Linked DNA regions of Homo sapiens: region 1 is linked to region 2. The links are contacts of gene promoters, found by promoter capture Hi-C in human tissues and cell types (Jung and others, 2019). All regions are on one chromosome and are shown on one strand. Each heading gives the region's core, a stretch centred on a gene start or on the middle of the fragment in contact. The rest is flanking DNA. Distances are from core to core; before and after follow the strand shown.

Region 1 (5,375 bases), core at 2,228-4,727, 290 kb after region 2:
CTGCCTCAGCCTCTGGAGTAGCTGGGACTACAGGTGCGCACCACAGGTGCACCACCACACCTAGCTAGTTTTTGTATTTTTAGTAGAGACGGGGTTTCACCATGTTGGCCAGGATGGTCTCAATCTCTTGACCTTGTGATCCGCCTACCTTGGCCTCCCAAAGTGCTTGGCCACCGCGCTGGGCCAAGTTAATCTTATAATTACGTAAGTTATATACCAGTGCCTTCTCCAAGTAAAAAGCGAAAACGTTAGACTGCAGTCCCTTTGGGCCAGCAACCCCAATCACAAACCTCTTTCCCACCCCTCAGAGCCAGCCACTGTTATCAAGTTTGTATATTCCTTTCAGAATCCTTTTCTCCTGATCTGTCATTTTTTTTCTTTTTGAGGCGGACTTTTGCGCTTGTCACCCAGGCTGGAGGGCAATGGCATGATCTCAGCTTACTGCAACCTCCGCCTTCCAGGTTCAAGTGATTCTCCTGCCTCAGCCTCCCGGGTAGCTGGGATGACAGGCACCCGCCACCATGCCTGGCTAATTTTTGTATTTTTAGTAGAGACGGGGTTTCACCATGTTGGCCAGGCTGGTCTTGAACTCTGGACCTCAGGTGATCCGCCCGCCTTGGCCTCCCAAAGTGTTGGGATTACAGGCATGAGCCACCATGCCTGGCCTGATCTGTCCATTAAGTCTTTGACTCTCAAGGGTGGTTTTTATCTCTGATGCTCCCACACATTTCTATAAAGCAGCAGGGCAAACAGGAGGAAGACGAACAGACAAGACACAATCCTAGCTCATTGTCAAAAGAGGTGAGATAAGATACACCTACACATGAATGGTGATGATGATAAGTTCTGTTTTTTTTTTGTTTTTTTTTTTTTGAGATGGAGTCTCACTCTGCCTCCCAGGCTGGAGTGCAGTGGCACAATTTTGGATCACGACAACCTCTGCCTCCTGGGTTCAAGTGATTCTCCTGCCTCAGCTTCCCAAGTAGCTGGGATTACAGGCGCCCGCCACCACGCCCGGCTAATTTTTTGTATTTTTTTAGTAAAGACAGGGTTTCACCATGTTGGCCAGGCTGGTCACAAACTCCTGACCTCAGGTGATCCACCCACCTTGGCCTCCCAAAGTGCTGGGATTACATGCGTGAGCCATCACGCCCGGCCCAGTTCTGTTTGTTAAAGGCACAGTTTAAGCATTCTTTGTTTTTTTTTTTGTTTGAGACAGAGTCTTGCTCTGTCGAACAGCCTGGAGTGCAGTGGTGCTATCTTGGCTCACTGCAACCTCCACCTCCTGTGTTCAAGTGATTCTCCTACCTCAGCCTCCTGAGTAGCTGGGATTACAGGCGTGTGCCACCACGCCAGGCTATTTTTTTTTTTTTTTTTTGAGACGGAGTCTTGCTCTGTCGCTCAGGCTGGAGTGCAGTGGCGCGATCTCGACCCACTGCAAACTCCGCACGCCATTCTCCTGCCTCAGCCTCCCGAGTAGCTGGGACTACAGGCGCCCGCCACCACGCCCGGCTAATTTTTTTGTATTTTTAGTAGAGACTGGGTTTCACCGTGTTAGCCAGGATGGTCTCGATCTCCTGACCTCGTGATCGGCCCGCCTTGGCCTCCCAAAGTGTTGGGATTACAGGCGTGAGCCACCGCGCCCGGACATTTTTTTGTATTTTTAACAGAGACGGGGTTTCACCGTGTTGGTCAGGCTGGTCTCAAACTCCGTATCTTGTGATCCGCCCTCCTCCGGCTCCCAAAGTGCTGAGATTACAGGTGTGAGCCACCACGCCCGGCAGCATTCTTTAATTCAGATGAATAACAAAGGCTTTATTTGAACTAGATAGGGCTGTTTAAGATGTCAATTGTTTTACTTAATAACTAGCAAATTAGTAATTAGCATAGTGCCCTGTACAAAGTTCAGTATAAGCTAATTTCCCCTTTCTACCTTACTTAGACCTTTTGGGCCCGATGGGTAGAGTGTGAAAATGATTACTGATACTTACTGAGGGTTTATTATGTGTCAAGCAGGCATTTTACATAATCTCATTTAATTTTCACAAGCCGGTGAAGTGTTATTACAGAGGAAAGCTCCAATTGAGATAAGGCATGCCGGGACTGCAAAGTCCTTGTATGTAACTAGCTTGGGATAAAACAGGCCAGTAAGTAGACCTTGAGAGCTTGTTTAGAGGACCTTGAGAGCTTGTTAACACGGGCGTGCAGCTACTCCTATATCCTTGACTTGTCCTCTTCTATGGGGGATGCTCCTCCTTTTCGACCGAATATGCAGCTTCGGGAGGGACGCACATGGAGAGGTGCGGGAGGAAGGGGCCACCCGCCTAGACAGCCAGATCAGCCGAATCAGCCCTGGCGATCTATGGGGTGACAAGATAGCCAGAACGCCCTCACATCCAAACAGGCCAGTAAATGGAAAATACTTTAAAACACCATGCTACAATTATAAACCATCATCTTATTTATTCGTAATTCTTGGAGTTGACAACAGGTCAGATCCTATTGAGAGGAGGTCATTAATTTTCTAAAGACAGAAAACCTGGGTCTCTTCGGTCAACAAACAACTCTAAGGTTCTTTTTTTAAATCCTTAAATAGGGAAAATCCTGGACTCAAGGAGTTGATTATATGATATAACAGAAATAAACGGCTGACTTGGAGTAGGCGTTCAGTAGATTCTAGTCTTTTCACCCAGAAGGGGCTTGGGAGGGCAAAAGTAAAACCGCACTGAAAAAGACTAAAAGTGGGCGCACCTTCCGCCTTGCCGAGGCTCTCGCTGCTAGCCGTTGGCGTTTTCCCGCGCAGGGGGCAGGGCGCAGAGCGAGCCCAGGAACGTGGGAGCGGAACCCCACCCCCCGCCAGGACTACACCTCCCAGCAGGCACCACGCTCCGCCACATGGCGGGCGGCATCCAATGGTATTAGTCCTTCAAGCCAGCTTAGTCCGCTTTCCGTCCCGGCCTTCCCTCGGCTCTAAGGTCTCTAGGGGGTTCGTCTAGAAGCCCGCTGGAGAAAGGCTGCGGTAGGGGTCGCCTTGGCTGTGCAGCATGTTGGGAGTCGTGGTCCCCTCGTGCAACATTTGGGAGGCCAGGCTTGCCCTGAGTGGTTGGACCACATCACGTGATGAGCACAGGGCGGCCACAGGGGAGTAACCTGTGGTGCTTTGTGAGGTCATCACGGCGCGACGACGAGCTGCAGTTGTGGGCACCTTGTATGCGGTGGGTAATACTCTCCTGATGACTCCGAGTACAATACATATTATCAAGTCTCCCTTATTTGTTCCTTTCTGTGGTCCCCACCTCCACGCGGTTGGCTTCGCGGGGTTGGGGTGGAGGTGGTGGCTGGAAGAGGCCGCGCGCCGCCTAGGCTGACTCTGAAGCCGCGCACGAGCGACGTGTTGTGGCTCCTCCTTCGCCCGTGACGCGAGGTCACGTGACGGGTTGGGCAGCCTGTGCCGCCGCCGCCGCTTTGTAAGAGGCACATTGGCAGGTAACGAGCGGCGGCGGCGGCAGCGGGTCTTGGGTCCTCCGAGAGCAGCAGCGGTAATTGCCATCCTCTCCCTCTCCTTCCCTCTTCCAGGGCCCTGAGCGCTGCAGCGTGTGCTTTCTAATTCTGGGTTCAGCTCGTCTGAAACCCCACCGCCTGCAGACTGCCCCGGCGCCCACCCGTGAGGACCGGGCCGAGCTTCACTCGCCAGGTCCACGGTCCCTCTACGTCCAGGCCCGGGCTCCCTCCTTCCTCTTCCCCTCACGTTGCCCTGTGCTTCTTCCTACTTTCCCCCGTCCAGGTCGGCTGGGCCCCACCCAGCCCCAGGGGTGCCTCCCCTCCCCCCTTTCGGGTTTCTGCCCTGGAGGGTGTGGTTTTCTCTCCCACCTCGGTGCCTGCCAGTAGACTGGAGCTTCCCCGCCACGCTGTCGGTCCCATCTCATCACCTTTCCGCTTTCACGCCCGTAGCTAGTCTTGGGACTGGCCCTGTTATAGCCCCAACTTATGCGCTCTCTAACCTTTCCTGGCTTACCCGGAGTCACAGTTCAGTTCTACTTCTTTTCAATTCTGTAGGGCATTGGTCTCAATTGGGACTCAGTTTTCCTCCACACCCGCCGTTCCTGTAGTCTGGTTATATCACAGTTCATTATTTAATGTAGGTTTTTGAGCGCTTTGTAAACGGCAAAGCTCTCTCTGTTAATAATACATACTCAAAATGTTATTCTTTCATTGGTGCATTACAACTCAGTTGTTTGCCTCTGAATCACTTTCCCACTCGGCTTTTCCACATTTTCCCCTGAGTTTTTAGTCTAATTAGTTGCCCACGCATCTCAACTGTCACCACTCTGGTCTCTAATGCTTGCTCGCTTTAGGGGTTGATCCCATCATTATTACTGTTATTTCCTGTTTGATGTAATCCAGTCATTTACTACCACTTCTATTGGATATTGTTTTTACCTCACATTCAAGGAAGGTATATGGTTTGCCAGTATTTAGGCTTATTGTCTTTCTACAGCACCAGTGTATCCTAACAGTTGAGAGATTTTAAAAAATTACTATTAATTTTAGAGATATGGTCTCCATATGTTGCCCAGGCTGGCCTCCAGCTCCTGGGTTTAAGCGATTCTTTCACCTCAGCCTCCTGAGTATCTGGGATTACAGTGTGCACCACGGTGCTCAGCTAGTTGAGGGTTTTTTCAGGTCTCCATAAGGTATCCAAAGATTATCTTTTATTTGAAGGGCATATAATTTCTTGGGTGAACCCAGTTCTTATATTCCTCTTCCGTTGTGACAGCACTTTTTTCAACAAGGGGTATGCGACTAGTTATTGCATTCCTCACTTTTCACTGTGAATTGTGTATCCGTTTTAGTGCCAGTTTGTGAAAGGTGGAAGGAAGTTGAACATGATACCTAAGCTCTCCCGTATCCTACATTGGTGTGTTCCCCTTTTACCTCAGGAAAGGGAATGTATTCCACTCCCTGGAGATGATAGTTTCCTTCAATACACTCACCTGTGGAGCCCCTTCGCTAGGGTTGTCCTTCCATTGCTTTGAAGGCTTCTCTTATCATTAGGCAGAAGTGATTAGTTTCCCAAACTGCCCTTTTGCTTGCTGCCAGCATACTCCTGATTTTCCTACTTATGGCTAGTTGATACGTGTGACGAGAGATTTTCCCACAGCGCTGATTTCCCCCATTTGCTTCCCTGTTGCCTCTCACCCTCAATAATTATGAAACCTTTCAGAGAAGGAAGGTTTTTGTTGTGATTGAAATATGCCCGAAAGTGGTGGCATGGGAGAGAATGAGGCCATGGGAAAGGGTTGTGGTAATTGCCTCTCTTGCCTGTTTCCTGCTGCTCTGGTTTCCTCTGTCCTCCCTTTAAATGTGGGCTGGAT
Region 2 (5,554 bases), core at 951-3,450:
TGTACACACAACGGGCCGGGCACAGTGGCTCATGCCTGTAATCCCAGCACTTTGGGAGGCCAAGGCGGGTAGATCACCTGAGGTCAGGAGTTCAAGACCAGCCTGACTAACATGGAGAAACCCCGTCTCTACTAAAAATACAAAAATTATCCAGGCGTGATGGCACACGCCTGTAATCCCAGCTACTTGGGAGGCTGAGGCAGAAGAATCACTTGAACCCGGGAGGTGGAGGTTGTGGTGAGCCGAGACGGGGCCACTGAATTCCAGCCTGGGCAACAAGAGCGAAACTCTGTCTCAAAAAAAAAAAAAAAAAAAAGATGTACATATAACAATGTTCACTACAACTTTGTTTGCAATATCAAAAAGGAAAAGAGCCAGAAACAAATATCCATCAATATGGGAATAGGCAAAAAGTACAGTATATCTATATGATGAAATAGCATGAAGTCATTAAAAAAAATGAGGTCGAGGCTGGGTTCAGTGGCTCGAGCCTTTAATCCCAGCATTCTGGGAGGCTGAGGCAGGAGGATTGCCTGAGCCCAGGAGTTTGAGACCAGTCCGGACAACACAGTGAGACCTTGTCTCTCAAAAAATAGAAAAAAAATTAGCCAGGTATGGTGGCATGCACCTGTACTTCCAGCTACTTGGGAGGCCAACGTGGGAAGATTGCTTGAGCCTGGAAGGTTGAGGCTACAGTGAGCCATGTTTGCACCAATGCACTCCAGCCTGGGCAATACAGTGAGACCTTGTCTCAAAAACAAAAGAAAAAGAAAAAAAAATTAGGTCAAGCCTAATGTACTGCTTGTAAGAAAAATTTTTAGACACATGAAAAGGAGACAGTTCTGAATAGCATGTATAATGAAATCCCTGTTTGAGTTTACAAATTCATATATAAAGTGGTAGGCTTTCATTTTTCTATTCTATTTCATTGTTCTATTTTCCTGGACTCCCTATTTATGTCAAGAACTTACCCCATTCCAGAAGCCAAAAGGAAGCACCCCATCACTGTAGAACTGGTGAACAAAGATCTCATATTATTGGTCCGTGGTTGAGGCAGAAACAGGTAGCTGATCCCATGCCCTCCCTATAAAGATGCTCAAAAAGCATTAGAAAGTTATAGATGTGGGGTACCTTGCTCCTGCCTCAGGTCCCATGGAATGTTAGAACCCCTAAATAAGCTTAGGGATCCAAGACTAGAGGGTCCCATGGAATGAATGTTAGAACCCCTAAATAAGCTTAGGGATCCAAGACTAGAAGGTCCCATGGAATCAATGTTAGAACCCCTAAATAAGCTTAGGGATCCAAGACTAGAGGGCACAGTGCCCTGCCTAAGACAGGAACTCCATACCACTGCCACCATCAACACAACATGGACAAGCAAAGATGCCTGCATGGGGAGCCAAGAAAGACAAGCCTGGGTTAGCCACATGGAACCACTGGGGAGAGGAAAGCAGCGGTGGGGTGGGGGAGGAATCTTAGGGTAGTGACAAGGGTGTACCCTAGCAAGAATGTATTTCAGTGGATGCCAGTGTATTAGGGATGACCACATCTAAGAACCACATCAGCTAACAGTTAATCTCAATGGCGCCAGAAGAGCTAGGATCAGATGCTCATTCTCCATCTATATTCTGGACCCATGGAAAGAACAGTTCTTCTAGAAATACAGAACTCCTCACTGCTCTTTCAATTGCTTGGCTTGAGCCAGCTATTCTCTAGAATTCCTCCTACCCACTCTATACACACAACCTCCTACTCGTCAGAAGCAGCTCAGATGTCACCTCCTCTGTGAAGCTTTCTGGCTTCTAATCACTTCCATGCTCTGCATCCTTAACACGGCTTGAACAAATTTAAAGTTCAATCAGGGAAGCAAACGCTATGAGTGACAGAAAACTAAAGATTTATTATAAGGAGTAGACACTGTGTATCTTTGGAAGTTGGTGGATAAATCCATGCAACTCTGCTGCCTCTGCACCTGGTGTTGGGCCCGAAGTCTGTGAGGCCAGCAGTTGGGAAGAAAACTGGATGTGAGGTGGAAGAGAACAAAGACAAACTGGAACCTCTGAGAACAAACTGGGATCTACAAGGACAACTGGAACTCATGAGGACAAACTGAAACCCACAACTTCCTTTCACTGGTCCCAAGCTCAGTGACTCAGGTGATCTGGAGAAGCCGGAGCCCTCTGCTACAGAGCTGACTGCACACATGGCCCAGGACTCAGAGGAGCTGAAGGAGGAAATTCAGTAGGAGCTAGGGGTGCTGGGGGCTGTGTGATGACCTTCACCAACAAGGTGAGCCAGATCAGAGAGAAAGTACAGGTACTGCCACTATGCCTGGTACCCTGCTCTGTCCTTCACAGCGTACAGACCCTGCTCTGTCCTTCACAGTGTACTGGCTGCTACTTCAATTCAGCTTTCCAAATCTCTCACGAAATTTTCTTGTGGACAACCCTCACCTGGAAGCAGATAGGAAGGATACTGGGAATCCAGCTTAGCTAAACTGACACAGTACAATGCCACCACAAGCACATATACCTAGTATAGTAAATCTCTGCTGGTACCTCTGGCAGGGAAGAGACAGATTATAAGCTCTGTTTTCTTGGGACCCAGCACAGCAGTTCTGAACAGATGTTCATTGACTCAAAAGAACTCTCTCCCCACCTCCCACTCAAACAAATGTTTGAGTATGTTCTGGGGCCCTGGGAAATAGCCCAGTGTTTTCCTGAAGAGTGCCATTTACATAAAAGTGAATGGAACTATTGTTGGGGGTTTTCTGTTTTTCTGGAGACCACAAAGCTGAAACTGTTCATGGGTTTGAAAGTAGCCAGCTTTCACACACAGACTCCAAGTGGATTCAAACCTCAGGGGGTTAAGGAACACAGCATCCAATATGCAAATATGCCTGCAGCCAGGATTGCGGAGGTGAGAACTCCAGGCTGACAGCAGGCAATTCACACTTCAAAAAAGTGGCAGAGTGCCTGAGGTGGTTAGAAAAAACCTGAACAAAAAAACCTTCAATGTCATTAGAAGGTTCTAGAAGCTAAGGAAAAATATTCTCGGCTTTCTCCATAAATACAATTCCCTCAGAGCCTAGGAGGTTCGGGACCTAGGTACCAAAAAAAGAATTTACAAATACATGGCTATGCTGTTTGTTTCAATATTTTCATCAAATTAATCAGAGTAACTGTAAAAAGCCCTCAGAAATGTAACTTTAGGTACAGGAAGAGCTCTCCAAATTTTCCCTCTGACCTGTTCTCCATATTCTAATATCCCTTTAGCAGAAACAGTGTTTCATGCCGCGTTGTCAATTAAGCATCTATATATACTGTGCCAGCTATACTGTGCAAGACTTTTGACAACTATTGTTTCTAAAGCTCAAAACAACCTTTCAAGAGAAGCATTATTATATCTAATTTACAAGGACACTGATATTATTTCAAAAGGTTAAAATACTTGCATAAGGGCATAGCTGGCCTGTAAAGGATGGGATTTCAATCCAAGTAAGTCTAACTCCAAAGTCTATAATTTTTGTCCCTTTCATAGCTCTGTTCACCATGAAAGAGTAGGGCTTAGGACACAAATGGCCCTGAGAGAGGACAGACAAGATTTATAAAATCATTTCCAGTTTCAAAATTCCCAGTCCTTTTTTTTTTTTTTTTTTTTTTTTTTTTGACAATGTCTCTCTGTGTCATCCAGACTGGAGGGCAATGGTATGATCACAGCTCACTGCAGCCTCAAGAGCTCACTGCATCCCTTCTGGGCTCAAGGAATTTTCCTGTCTTAGCCTCCTGGGTAGCTAGGACTACAAGCAGGAGCCATCACATCTGGCTAAATTTAAAAAACACTTTTTTTGTAGAGATGGGGTCTTGCTATGCTGACCAAGCTAGTCTTGAACTCCTGGCCTTAAGTGACCTTCCCACTTTGGCCTCCCAAAGTGCTGGGATTACAGGTGCAATCTACTGTGCCTGGCCCCAAATTCCCAGTCTTTAATCTATATTCCTTTGGAGGTTAAGATGTCTAGCTGGGATCATTTCCACCAAAAAGGTTTTAGTTGGGGGGAGAGGGCCGTAGATGTTAAATCCTGGTATCCGAAGAAGACTCTGAAGGAGGGGTAAAATGTAGCCTCAGGCTCCTAATAGCACCCATCTCAAAAGGGTTTCTATGCCTCCTCTGCTCTTTTCTGGGAAGTAGGAACCTAAAACCACATGTTCCACTTAACTTAGGGCACTAGTGTCCAGAAAATTTGCCCAGACCCTCCTCCAGATGAGGAGGAAAGCCAACTGTTTGCCTGCCCACAAGCAATTCTATGTGACTGCAATTCTATGTGACTACTCCCTCACCTCCCACATCATCATCATCTTTTTTCCAATTTGCCAGTTTCTTTCTTCCCTTTTGGAGTGGACAGAAATGAGGCACCCACCCATGAGTAAAGCTCTTTCTTGTAAGAACAATAACAAATGGAAGAGAAGAAAAAAGAAAGAAATGCAAAAGAAAAGCCCCAACTACCATGAATAAATTGAGACAAAGAAAATATTCCCTCAAATGCACCTTTCCCTGGACATCTGCCACTCCATTCTTGCAGAGACGAAGCTGCTGAGTCATTTTGTTATTTTTGCTATTGGCTGAGGGAGGAAACAGGAGATTTTACCTGTAATGGCATAAATATTGGCTTCTAGGATAAGGCCAAAGTCAGACAAGGTTGGGACAAAAATCATTCTTAGTGAAGGGGATTTGTTAAGCAGCCTATTAGTGCCATCTGCTGTACAATTCTAGAAAGCTAACTCGGGGAATTTGTCTGTTGTGCGTATCCCATGCGACAGACAGTGTGAAGGATTGACAGATAGATATGAAGCTGAATACTACCAAGCACCAACTTCCTAGAGATTTACAGGCTAGTGAAAGTGGAAGACATTCCAACAGACAAGTTACAGTGTGTTTTGTGCAACGTAAGATGGAAAGGCAGCAAAGAAGCATCTTTAGGTTAACAAGGTACCCCATAAGGATTCTGATGGGTCACTAGTTTACCAGGCAGAAGGGAGGCGGATGCAAGGCACTGCCAGCAAAGGGAGGAGTGTGGGCAACACCCTCAAGCACAAAATGACATCTCATTGGTAAACAGCTTAGTTTATATTCTGTAGGCAATGAAGCCTCTGACTGGTTTTAGGCAAGGGTATAATTTGGTCAGACTGACATTTTACAAAGATATTCTAGCTGCAAGCAAGCTGGGGAACGAATTAGGACAGATTGGAGGCAGAGAGATTAACCAGTTACAAGTCTATTGCAACAGACCAGTTAACAAATGATTCCAGTTAGATCAAGGCAGAGGCTGTGAGAAAGGAAAGGAAGGGATGAATCTGAGAGATATTTCAAAGTAAAATGGACAATAGTGATATTTCATTGTCTAAGGGACAGAGAGATGTTTCATAAGCCAAGGGAAAGAGAAAGGCTTTGGTTTGAGTGCCTGGGTGGAGGAGGGGGTGCAAGTGAAGCATTTGTTTGGGACAAGTTGAATTTGAAGTGCTATAGTCTATCCATAAGATAAATGAACAGATGGGTC

What was found. Contacts are between HindIII fragments. The study calls those that stand out against the background at their distance.
Region 1: the fragment with the promoter of UBAP2 here is called in contact with a fragment that was not itself captured in region 2 in 1 of the 25 tissues and cell types used here (dorsolateral prefrontal cortex).

What each region holds. Positions count from the first base shown.
Region 1 is chr9:34,046,989-34,052,363 of GRCh38, reverse strand. UBAP2 (ubiquitin associated protein 2) reads left to right here and starts at 3,477. Exons shown (of 29, transcript NM_001370062.2): 1 at 3,477-3,539. It also overlaps the pseudogene RN7SKP114. RefSeq lists enhancers at 943-1,797, 1,798-2,654, 2,845-3,374, 2,655-3,510, 3,511-4,367 and silencers at 3,405-3,494, 3,645-3,694. The HindIII fragment of the contact is 41,306 bases long and covers 1-5,375 here.
Region 2 is chr9:34,331,759-34,337,312 of GRCh38, reverse strand. NUDT2 (nudix hydrolase 2) reads right to left here. Exons shown (of 5, transcript NM_001161.5): 2 at 972-1,084. It also overlaps a transcript of KIF24 not described here. Among named protein-coding and RNA genes, the nearest start is that of NUDT2, 5.0 kb to the right of the region's middle. The HindIII fragment of the contact is 3,442 bases long and covers 480-3,921 here.